Regions from separate parts of the Homo sapiens genome. Here region 2 is linked to region 1. The links are contacts of gene promoters, found by promoter capture Hi-C in blood cells and fetal thymus (Javierre and others, 2016). All regions are on one chromosome and are shown on one strand. Each heading gives the region's core, a stretch centred on a gene start or on the middle of the fragment in contact. The rest is flanking DNA. Distances are from core to core; before and after follow the strand shown. Region 1 holds the start of LURAP1L (leucine rich adaptor protein 1 like). Region 2 has its middle 66 kb from the start of LURAP1L-AS1.

What was found. Contacts are between HindIII fragments. The CHiCAGO score rates a contact against its expected background, and 5 or more counts as called.
Region 2: a fragment that was not itself captured here is called in contact with the fragment with the promoter of LURAP1L in region 1 in 1 of 17 cell types (endothelial precursors); the score reaches 6.4 in endothelial precursors.

What each region holds. Positions count from the first base shown.
Region 1 is chr9:12,773,209-12,779,426 of GRCh38, reverse strand. It overlaps LURAP1L (leucine rich adaptor protein 1 like), which reads right to left and starts at 4,407. Exons shown (of 2, transcript NM_203403.2): 1 at 3,400-4,407. The coding sequence starts at 3,711. The region is part of intron 2 of LURAP1L-AS1 (LURAP1L antisense RNA 1); the gene reads left to right. The HindIII fragment of the contact is 1,821 bases long and covers 4,239-6,059 here.
Region 2 is chr9:12,876,616-12,883,327 of GRCh38, reverse strand. No RefSeq gene overlaps it. Among named protein-coding and RNA genes, the nearest start is that of LURAP1L-AS1, 66 kb to the right of the region's middle. The HindIII fragment of the contact is 2,761 bases long and covers 3,778-6,538 here.

The DNA.
Region 1 (6,218 bases), core at 3,158-5,657:
TGCAGGTGCCTGTAGTCCCAGCTACTTGGGAGGCTGAGGCAGGAGAATGGCCTGAACCTGGGAGGCGGAGCTTGCAGTGAGCCGAGATCGCTCCACTGCATTCCAGCCTGGGCGATAGGGCGAGACTCCGTCTCAAAAAAAAAAAAAAAAAAAAAAAAAAGATTATAAGATTTCAACGGGATAATACATATAAAATGTTTAACTAGCACCGTGTCTTACACATAGTAAAGTCTCACCAAAGTAACCAAATGTAGTAGTACACCCTTATCTATGGCTTTGCTTTTAGTTACCTACAGTCAACTGCAGTCTGAAAATATTATAGTATTTTGAGAGAGAGAGAATGAGAGAGAAAGAGAGAGAGAGACATTCACATAGCAATACACTGTTTTATTTTATTGTTAGTTATTATTGTTAATCTCTTACTGTGACTGATTTATAAATTAAACTTTACAATAGGTACGTACGCATAGGACTAAACAGTCTATATAGGCTTTGGTACTATCCACAGTTTCAAGCATCCATTGGAGGTCTTGGAACATATCTCCCATGGATAAGGTGGGCTACTGTATTGGTTTAAGTTCCTCAGATTTCCTGGACTACCTGACATTAGGCTCTACAATTCTTTCATACATGCTACTTCAATCAGCAGCATGCTTAGCACATAGCATGTGTTTAATAAAAGTTAAATTTAAAATAAAAATCAAGATTTCCAGTTGAACTGAAGCTAGGGAAACCTACACATATTTTGTGCGTTAGTTTGTTTGGAAACATCGTCTCTACAGAGAGTATCTGATGACATGGGAGATGACATGATAGAGTCAGTCTGGTGGAGAAGATATCTAGGCCTTCATCAGTCCCAAATCCACATTATCCATGTAGGGCTGCTTTTGTAAGATCAACGGAACCCATGTCATTGATGTAATGCTCATTACTGCCAGCATCCTTACTGTTTTTGAATATCTATGTAATAGTTGTTTTTCTTATATTATTTCACTGAATTCTTAAAATGCCTTAATGGAGATGCTCTTATTCCTATGTTAACAAGAAAGCTGAGTCTCAAAGTGGTTCTATAACTTGTTCAGTGCCACACACTAGTGAGTGAAAAAGCCATGACTAGAATGAGGGCCACAGAGAGCGGGACAAGCCTTTTTGCCGGGGAAGATAAGCTAAATGTCTCCCTAGACAGGCAGCCCTACATCCTATTGGGTCTTATTGATATCCTGACTTGCTCTAGACTTGTCTGAAACCCTGGTTTATCTGGCTTCAAAGCTTACGAAGCTTCCACCAGACCAGAGGACCATCATTTGAGTAGTGATGAAATATTCTCCAAAAAACAACAACAAATGCGACAAATTATCAGGGACCTTAGAGACTCTCAACATAAATCCCAGTTTCAGAAATTGTGTCTCAAAAAAGTAAAGTCTTAATAAATATTAGGTTGGTGCAAAAGTAGTTGTGGTTGCCATTAAAAGCAATGGCAAAACAGCAATTACTTTTCCACCAACCTATAAAAAAAAACTAATTGTGATTCATCACTACAATAGAAGGTAAAATGTATACTCACGTTACCATGGAAATAAACATCATCAGTTTAAAAATTCTCACAAAACTTGTGACTTCTCTACAGGACAACATGGTTGTGCATCCTAAGTGGAACGTAATTATTTTTGTCAGAAAATGATCTTCACATACATACCAATCATTCCTTGGGACAGGGTGGGGTTCATCGGTTTTTGGAAATGTTACTGTTTTCAAGTTATATATAAATACTCTAAATTGTGTCTGAGTGTCCAGCAAAATGACAGTATTATCTTTGATGTGCTATCAGTGAGCTACTGAGAAAGAAAATATGTTTCAACAAGATTTATTTATTAGATTAAGTGAATATATTAACATTCCATGGGTAAAATTACAGAAGACATGGTTAGGAATAAAATTTCCTCATCTCCTTGATGTCTTCGTCCCTCATATTAAGTCCTTAATTTGCAGAGTTAGCAACATTCTTAATTCCTTGTACAAGAAATTTTCTTGTGGAAAATAGTTTTACCTGTTAGTCTCCACACGTATGTCTGATCTTTGTGATACGGTATCAGGCATCCCCTGACCTGTTGGTTTGTCATCTTTTCCATTTTATCTTTTCATCTATTTTGCAAACTCATCAAGATGACTTCCACTTTCCAGCTTCTCCATTATGTACCTAAGGGTTGTCCTTAAATTTTTGTCCAACCTAAAAAATAACAATCACTAAATGATAGAACTCTATAATAACTAAACGATAGAATGATAGAAATAATTTCCAGCATTCCTGTCGGAGTGATAGAAATCTCCTAGCCTACTTTGAAGCAAATCAAAAGCAACTGTGAAGTTAATTTAATGAAATTATTTTCTCTTTTTGAGGCCCACTGTTGCAACTTTCCTTATCTCCAAGCTAGTAGAAAATGCTGTTGCTTTGTGGTCGTTTTTTTCAAAGGACTTAGGGAGGGATCATTTTCTCTAACCAGCTCATCAAATTCACAGAGGTCTACAGAAGTGAAGTGACGTGCCCAAGAGCTCATGGCAAGTAAATAGTGTCTTAGTCTAAATACTTCCAGAATGAGTATTCCTAGACCTTGTACTTATCTCATTGTCCTATGCTCAGGCAAACGTTTGCAAACAGCAGGGAAAACAACTGCAGATTGAGACTTGAGGGAGAAGGGTGGGAGATGGTCCTTAGCAGATCCCTGGGCCTGGGGATCACCTGCTCCCTGGGATCAAAATAGTGAAACAAGCTATTCATAAGTACATCAAGGACGAGTAGGCCATTGTTTTCAGAACCAGCTGTGGAGAATCTGCTCGACAGTGGCCTTGGAACAGCTGCGGCTGCTGCACCAAGAAGGGAGGGCAGGAGGGCGGAGCGGTACTGGTGGAAGGGTGAGCTAGGAGGAAAGGCTGCAAGGACCCTGCCACGCCACCTCCCGGCAAACCAGGAAGTATTTTTGCAGTAAGTGCATTGGACTGAGCCACCTTTTGAACCTACCCGAAGTGTTAACAGCGCACAGCAGGCCTTAGATGGGTGCAATAACTGCAAACTCTCAACGGGCTGGTGCCTAAGAGGCTACGGGCTGGCAGCTAAATAGAGCCCGGCGCAGTGAGTCGCGTTGTCCGAAAGTACACAGAGTGGAGCCAGCCGACTGTGCTGTCTTTGCAAACCGTGACCGAGCAAAGTCCGCGGTAAACAAGCCTCGCAGCAGCTGCCTCCGGATGAGCGCCCCCTGCTCATTCCTCCACCCAGCATTTCCCACGCGCCCAGCGCTCCGCTCTGCAGCCCCTGCCGTCCTCTCTCCCAGCCCCATTCTCAGATCGCCCCATCTTTTGGCCCAGCCCAGGTCCCAGCCCCCGCGGCTGGCGCACCACACTCACCATCTCTTGCCTGAGGAGGTGAAGCTTGGTTTCTAGCCTCTCCAGGGCGCTAGAGTGGCTACCTCGTGGGGAGCCAGAGGTTGGGGAGGACGAAGAGGAGGACGACAAGGAGGGAGGGAAGCTGCAGTAGCTGCTGCTGCTACTGCAGCCGCCGCCGCCGCCGCCACCACCACCGCTCCCCCCGCAGGGGTCCCTGTCCCTTTCCCTGGGAACCGGCTCCTCCCCACGGAGAGAGCGCACTAGACTCTCGGGTACTTTGCGCCCCAGCTTCAGCTCGATGTCTCTGAGGTCTGGCAGCGGGCTGTCTTCCATGACTTTTCCGGAACGGCGATAATAGTAATAAAACGCAGCAGATGAAAGGCAGCCACGGCTTCGAAGGCTGCTGCGAAATCAGCAGACCTCTCCGGGGGCCAGGGTCTCTATCCTCCGCCGCTCCGGTGTACCGTCCTTTCCATAACCGCCTATGCGGTATCAGCCCTGAAATCCGCACAGGACGCGGGGGGTCGCAGCTGCAGTTCCCAGTCCGCTGCGACTCCTCCGACACTAAGATGATCAAGATCTCCTCATTCTCTCTCTTTTTGGCCACCTCACTGCAAAGTTGAGTTCACTGATATTGCAGACAGAGGGGGAATAAAGAGGGGGAAGTAGTGAAAGAAAAGAGAGGGAAATTAAATCTGTTTTAGCTTTACCAAGGGAAAATTTTCACATTATAAAACCGTCCGTTCACATCCCTGCGCCGCTCACTGACTGCCCATCTGGTACTACGCGACACAAAATAATGATGCAGCCAGAAACGATGTCCTGGGTCGTTTCATTTTCCAGCCATATGCCTCCAAGCTTTCGGGATATCCTGGGTTGTCAGAAATAATCTCTGGTCAGTGAAAGAGGAGTTCGGTCGTGTGCATGGACCCATAAAAAAGAGCTAGTTAGCTTAGCAGGAGTTTAACGGCTTCCTTGATGCAGCAAAAATGTCCTTCTTCCCATTTAGGCTGTTTGATCCAAGTCATTGTGTTCCTCTGAGCCTCGGAAACTTTAAACTCCGCTGGCAGGTGGACCAAACCAGGACCAACCCTTCTACCGTATATCACAGACAAGAAGAGCAACCGGAATTTTCCCAACCCTGTCGCTAGTAGCAGAGTTTCAAAGCCCTGCTTTAGTTAGGAATACCAGTTGATTTTTCAGTTTTCCTGACTAGCTACAACCTTTAAAACAGGTTTTAAAATGAGAGATAGAGGAATGACTTTATATTTGGTGTCTTCGTTTCCCATCTCTCTACCTTCCTCAAAGGAAAAACAAACAGAAAACCTCTCTTTAGAAGACTTTCCTAATAATTTTATTCTAATAAAAAGAGTGAAACAATTTCATCAAAAGTTCAATGGAAATGTACAATCAAAATTAATTATCCTACCAACTGTTACAGTATGCAAACAAAAGTGAAAAATTAAATAGCCAGAATAACTTACATGACTGCTGAGATAGCAGTGAAATTTTAAGAACAAGCAATTGCTGAGATACTTACTTTTATTTTAATTATGGAAGAAAAAATATTGGGAATAACTATTTAAAATGTTGTCTTCTTTGATAATTTATCTATAAATTAATTTATAGATTTTTTCAACTATACAAATTGTACAATTAATTGTATAGTTGAACAATTGTACAATTTATTAATTTGTACAATTGTACAATTCATTAATCTGAAATACTTCTACCAAGTAAGTTATTATGAGCTACATGGATTACAGATCTGAATCAGCATTGAGTTTGTGTCAAAAATGTTTAAGTAGAGGATACTAATTTCAATCCAGTAAACTACAATTTTTGATTTCCATTGAAATATTTCAAAGTATGTGCCCCTCTATTTCTGTGACATATAAGTATTTGTGTTCCTGGTCACTCCGAGGCTCCATTTCCAGAGACATCATTCAGGTTTTACACTTGTAGGAACATAGGTATATACATCTCAGAGTTTGTTTTTATCATATCTGACTCTAGGAAACCTTATACGTAGAGGAAACATACGCATTCTAAATGAAATATTTCATGTCAGGGAAAAAATGCTGAACTTTCTATCAACATGCCAGAAATTTGCATGCTATTTCTCCCTTTTAAAAAGAAATGAAGAAAATAGTTATAAGTTAGATGACCCATTTCAAAGTTAGAACTACCACTTACAGAATCAAGGGAAAACAAGACCAAATCCCAGCTAACTGATAAAACTACATGCTTGGTCCTAAATTTGGAAAAACACAAGCTCGTTGCATAAGAATTGCACTGTGGCATGTAATTATGAAAGGCTTGTGTTTCAGTCAAGAACAGTTTATTATTACAAAACCCTTACAAAGTTCAGCATAAGGCTGGCTAAGTGCAGTTTATAGATGAAATATCTAGCTAGAAATTGGTCAGTAAAAAACAAATGTCAAATTATCGTGTGTCAATATAGAAAAATGGGACACCTCTTCTGCTATGAATCACAGACTGCAAAATCAGTATTTGAGGCTGAGGATAATTTAATATATACGTATATGTATGTATATATGTATATAGTTTTTTAAAGAAGTCTGCAGGAGAAACTCCTCTGAGAGTAAAAGTGTGATGTATATGCAAAGTAACTTTGTTCCAGTGAAATATAAAAAAATGTAAACTTTTGAAGGAAAGCTTAGTATGTCAAGCTTTAAATTTTTTTTCGGTTAAATGCCTATTGACATTTTAGTTTAAAATGAAGACATTTTGAATGATGCTTTAGCTAGTTTTCAGAATATATTAAAATCATTGAATGTTTATGGATCTATAATAGATTGTTGTTAATGCTACCATAA
Region 2 (6,712 bases), core at 3,909-6,408, 100 kb before region 1:
AGAATTCCTCAGCACTATTTCTCACCTTACTTGGCACAACTTTTTTTTTTTTTAATTTTTAAAACAAGCGTAGCTTAACAAAGTTTTTGTTTTTTTAATTTTAAAACAAACATATTGACACAACTTCTGAGGTGATTGAACTTGTTTGGTTTCTAAATTAAGAGGATGTAAGAGTACATCATTCATTAAAATAACTCCCAAAATGAGTTTCCCAACACAGGAAAACAAACTTTATATTACATTTTATTATTTATAGTAAAAATATAAATCAGTACAGTATATTTTCATATATTCTGACCCTGATACAATAGGTGTTAGAATAATGCAGTCAAAATAAACTTGTTAATGAGAAAAAAGAGTGGCAATGGAATGTTTCTTTACTTGAATTATTTAAACTGTTTATTTTCTTAGGATGAATTTGCTGGATAACTTTGGAACATTCCATTCATCCTTGCTTTTCACTGGCTATTTAATATACTGCAGAGAATGTCATAGGCTTTCAAATATTGCTAGACAAAAATGAAGAATAGGGTTTTCTAAGTACTAGTTTATACAGATGTAGGAAGGCATTCAGTAGTACTGATTCAAGATACAGGCTTTGATTCCTCTGAACGGGATCCTAATACACATTCCTCATGGTTGCATGCTAGAATGTTCCTTTTCTTTTTTGTATACTTTCCAAGAAGAAAGCTGAGATTATTCTGACTATGAAAGAATGTTTACTTTGCCAACAATTCCTATTCCACAGGGAAAGGGTGGGTTGACATTGTGTAAAACTCCACAAATTCCCACTCAAGCTGCGGTCTCTTTTCCATGTTGACCTCCAAATAGCCCCTTCTTGACTGCAGCTGGTGATACCATAAGAGGCTGTGCAAAACTCCAAATTAAAGAACCAGAGTGGAGATTGGGAGAGATGGAGCTGTTCAACTCGTTGTAAACACTGTTGTGCTCCAGTGAGGAATCCAGTTCATAGAAGTAATTAAAATTGATTTTTTTGTGTGTCAGAGTGGCACCAGACCCAGTCTATATGTAGAGAAAGAGGCCAAATCAATAGTATTTGCCTTGTTTTTGTTTTGAGATTTTTTCAAATAAAAAATTTGGAAAGACCACAGATGAGGTGCATTCTAATTATCTGAGTCACTTTTAACAGAATTCTTCAACTTCCCTTCTCAGCTTCACTGCACAGAGAAACTTTCCTCTGAAAATCATATTTGGCCTGTGAATCTTTTTTTTAATTTTATTTTAAGAGACGGAGTCTTGCTCTGTCGCCCAGGCTGGAGTGCAGTGGTGCCATCTCAGCTCACTGAAAGCTCCGCCTCCTGGGTTCACGCCATTCTCCTGCCTCAGCCTTCCGAGTAGCTGGGACTACAGGCGCCCGCCACCACGCCTGGCTATGGCCTGTGAATCTTAAATATCAAAAGTTGTAGGTGAAGCAGGACATTATTTTTGGAATGTTTGTTTTTAACCCTTCTGTTTCATTTTTTTACATTTTAATATTTATAGTAATATACATTTACACTTATATTCATTATATATGTTTATAAATATATTTTTACACTTATAATAATTTTCTTCAATACAGGCCTGAAATATAACAGATACTCAATAATTAATTAACTAATTAGATAAGAAACATTTGAAGCAATTATCATTATAACAAAAACTAAATAACCTATTTTCCTTTAATCTTAACGAATAACTTTGTTAGTGTATAGTTGATCTACATACAGGTTTCTGAAATAAAAAATATATTTTTGTCTTCATTAAGCAATGCAAATGGGAATGCTTCTTTTTTTGGAATTATGAATGTTTACTGTGAATCCAGGAGAAATTTTTAAAGCAGATGTATTTTGTTGATACACATAAACACACACACACATACACACAAAACTTTCACAAGTTTTATGATTTTTAACAGTTTCATGTTTTAGTGGGAGTTTTGTCTGAATCTTTTATCCTTGCTTGTATTGTTAGATAAGCGCACGTGGTTTGCCTAGAGTAGATTTTTTTTTTCTGGGTTGGTTCACAGAATGGGTGGGCTATAACATATTAATGGGGAAGAAAATAAGTAATGGCAATATTACAATAAACAATAAAAGTTCAAAGTTAATTTTTAATATTCACATGTGTTTGGCTATCTTGGTAGAAATAATCTCCAAGGGTTTTTTAAAGGACTGTATTATGTGCCTTTTCCTTTGTATTTTCACATGGGGGGAAAAAGGTAAATAAAAGGCTGCAAAAATCCTTTGGATTTATCTATTTCTTCTTGGTTGTGGAAACTTCCATGAAATATTATTAACAGGCAGCCAAATACCACAGTGTTATTACCTTTCAGGACTTGTCTCAGGGTGGTACTGCTCCTGGCAGAATTTCTCCATGTCTAGTTGGCGTTTACAGATTTTATGTGATTTTTTTTATCACATAGCTTTAATAAAAACAAGATGGTCAGATTAGTGAGTGTGTGTAAGAGACAAGGGCAGCCTCAGAAAACTCAAATGTAATCCTTTTAGATACAGTCTCCAGCTGGGCTTGACAAGGAGTTGTGAGCCATATAAGGAAGGAAGATAGCAGTTATACTTAACGATAGTTTTGTTTAAGTCAAATGATCAGGCCTCTCCTGTTTTATCTTAAACTTGTGGAGACAGTTTATGTTTCTGATGAGGGCAGCCAAATAATGCACTGGTAATCCAAGCCTGTTTACCCTCTGGCTATGAGACATGTTACATTATATTTTACATTTCAACCAGAGGGGATGATCTAAATTGTAAGGTGTCATGTGCTTCCCCTAAACTGAGGTCTGTTTTTCTAGATTAGCATTGGAAACCTCACCCTTGAAATGTGTCTTCCATCTAGAGTTCGGAGGAGGTACATTTATGGTAGGGTTCAGTGAATTAACACAGACACAGATTTTCTGTTTTTTTTTTTTTTTTAATTTGCTTTAAGTACATGGTATCAACAATGATCTATTGTTGATCTATTAATAGGAAAGGAAATAAGTAATGGCAACATTACAAAAAAGAATAAAAGTGCCAAAGTTCCTTTTTAATATTCACAGATGTGTGGTAGAAATGAGAGCTCATTATATTTCTCTTCAAACTTATTACCACTTCTGTAGTCTGTATCTTAGTTGGGTGGCATCAATTTCCATTAGCCTTTTAAGCTACAAAACTGAGAGTCATTGATTCTTTGCACTCACTTAGTTTCAACTCCTAGCCTCATTTACATCCCTGCTCTTATCATTTGTTTCTAAAACTTGTGCAACAGAAAAATCATTAGAAGAGAATTAAGTCCTCTGTGAAAAAAAATTTTATAACTAAGCTATTTCTCATATAAACATAAAAAAGGTAAAATGAAAGGGCAAGGAATCTCAAATCTCTCAAAATATTTATGTAATAAATTACACAGTTACATCTTTATCCAAGTGATTAAACAAGAATATTTTAAGGCAATGAATTATAATTCAGTATTTTTTATTCTTTTGCTTTGTAATACATGCAGTTTATGTCTTTAAATCACCTTATACTGTAATTACTATATATATAAAATAATGAATTTTAAAAAAGAAATCAGAAATATATATATATCTATATATATATATGAAAACACTGAAACAGAGGAGAGTTAACTTTACCTTTAGTCTGATGTACAGTGTACACTATTAAAGGATAAATTACATTGAGTTTCCTGGCAGCAAAAGGGTGATAGAAGCATATTATTTTTCAAAAGATATCCACTTAGATAAATTCATATAATTTATCACAGATAAATAGGCAAGCTTCAGAGATTTAAGAAAGACTATCCTTTTAAACACTTTGCAGTTGTGTAATCTAGAACCCTTTATTGAAACATCCCCCTCTCCCATGGTACTGCCGCTTCTCTGAATCACACAGGTAAGTGGTCTTCAAATTCAACTTGATGCCCTCTCAAGTGCATCAAGAAATCAAGAATGATGACACTGGCTTTATTTGTTGATCAAATTTTTCCAGAGTTTAAGACCTATTTTTAGTTATGAATACTTTAAAAAGTCATATTAATTCCTCTAGGAACTAAATTATTATTTTTGTATACCTAATCAAATAATGGCCCAAAAATGATATGTATGATGATCAAGGGCTTACCACAAATATCTAACTATGAAATGGAATATCCTTAGCTATATAGATTTTCAATAATAGAATGTATTTCCTTTTGAATGTAGCACTCAAAGAATCTTCAAATGGCTTTTAACTAGGGCAGGGTAAATTAACATAAGTATCTCTAATAGGGAGTGCAGGGTGCAGTAATTACAAATAGGGAAATAGAGATTCTAGTATACAAAGGTAAATATTTTACCCATTTTTCCTGATGTCCGCATTCTGTCTGAAGCCTGACTTGTGATTTATTTTACGTAGTATTGCATTTGAACTCTTAGCATTTAAACTCTTAGAATTTTTTTTTTCACACTAAGTCCTTTGGTTGCTTTGGTACACACTTTGCTGTTTTATCCTATAATTAAACCTGTGATAAGCAAAGAAAAACATACCCTTTTACTCCAGTAGTTCTGTAAAGATTAGGCACTTCCTTTCTGGATTAGCAGTTAGAGCTGAGATTACCCTGAAACAAATCAATTGGTCATTATATAGGGAAACACAAAATACGCGTATTGACTAACCAGCCTCCTTTCATGTTCTACAATTTCTACAAACAGATTCTTTACAATAGGTGGTATCTTTTCTATGCAAGTGAATGATAAACAAATATACAGGCTGCAAAAGAACATGATTGGGCCAAAGTTCACAATAGTTTGATGAATAAACCAGGGTTACAAAACCTGGAAATACAGGCAGTCTTACCAGGCTTCATATTTCTGCTGACCTAAGTCTAAGAAAAACAAAGGATTAGGTGTCAGTAACTAAACACGGTGCTCCTTCTTAGTTTTTTTTAATGTAGGTTAACCATAGTGAGAAAGGTATCTTTTCTATGACCACATTTATACAATAAGGACCAAAGATTGTAGAATTTACTAGAAAAAAATGCTTTACTTCAATTCTAGTCTGTGTCATTCAATTAACCCAGCCTTCACTGTAGATACAGAGATAAGCAAAGGGCTAAAAAAAGTAGTAGATGATATAGTACAATTCATCCATATGTAGAGTAAAAAGTCAAATGTAAAAAACTGTGAGGAAACACAAAAAGAGGAGAGATTATTTCTGCTTGGGGAAATCAAACACATATTCTGGAACTTAACAAATGAGTATAATTTTCACATACATTGATCTACACAATGTACAGTCATGCATCTCTTAACAACAGGGATACATTCTGAGAAAAGGGCCGATTTCACCATTGTGTGAACGTCATAAAGTGTGTTTCCATAAACCTGTGTGATACAACCTATTGCTCCTAGGCTACAAATCTGTACAGCATGTTACTGTATTGAATATTGTAGCCAGAGCCAGTTGTAACACAATGGGAAGTATTTGTGTATCTAAGCATAGAAAAGTTACAGTAAAAATAAGGTACAAAAGACAAAAAGTTTTTGACTCTTTTATAATAATACTTAGCTTAAAACACAACACATTCTACAGTTGTACAAAAATATTTTCTTTCATTATATCCTTATTCTACAAGATTTTTCTATTTTTTACGTTTTTATTTCTTTTTAGTTTTTAGGCTTTTTAATTGAAAACTAAGACACAAACACACACATTAGCCTAAGCACACAGGGTCGGGATCATCAGTATCACTGTCTTCTACCTCCACATCTTGTCCCACTGGAAGGTTTTCAGGGGCAATAACATGCATGGGGCTGTCATCTACTATGATAACAGTATCTTCCTCTAGAATACCTCCTGAAGGACCTGCCTGAGGCTGTTTTTGACTTAAAAAAATAAGCAGAAGGAGTACACTCCAAAATAACAATAAAAAGTATAGCAAATACATAAACCAGTAATATAGTCACTTATTGTCATTATCAAGTATTATGTACCGTACATGATTATATGTGCTATACTTTTATACAATTAGCAGTACAGTAGGTTTGTTTACACTGGCATTATCAGCACAAACATCTAAGTAATGTCTTGCTCTATGACACTATGATGGCTGTGACTTCACTAGAAGATAGTAATTTTTAGCTCTACTATAATCTTTTGGTACTACCATCCCATATGTTGTCTGTCATTATGCAGCACATAGCTGTATATACTATTAGCAGGATTTGTTGCTGTGGTAGTGGTGGTTATTGTTAGTCTTGGATTTAGTCGGGATTAGAAAGGAAATGGGAGTAGCTCTGACATGAGTCTTTGTGCATCTGTTTCCCCTAAATTGCTTAATTGGACCTTAAACTCCTTCAGAATCTGAATACCGCATGTTCTCTGATACTTTCCTGCTTATATTCTATACTCCACATCTTTTGAAGTTTTTACAAATTCCCTAATTAGCCAGGGTTTTTCATGTTTTCTCATCTTTGTACACATTGTTCCTTCTGTCCAGAAGGCCCTTCTCTAACCCCATGAGTATATATAGTTTATTAAAAATTCATTTTAGATATAAAGCTTTAGGCAACCTCCTAAGGTATTGATAGTTTTAGTTCCTCTAATCTTGCTGTAACTATGAATATTTATATTGACTTCTTTTTGCACTTACTTCATTTTATATGTCTGGCTACTCATTAGACTGTGAGCCTGTCTTCATTTTCATGGTGCCAAGTAGTTCCTCAACATGTCTGACG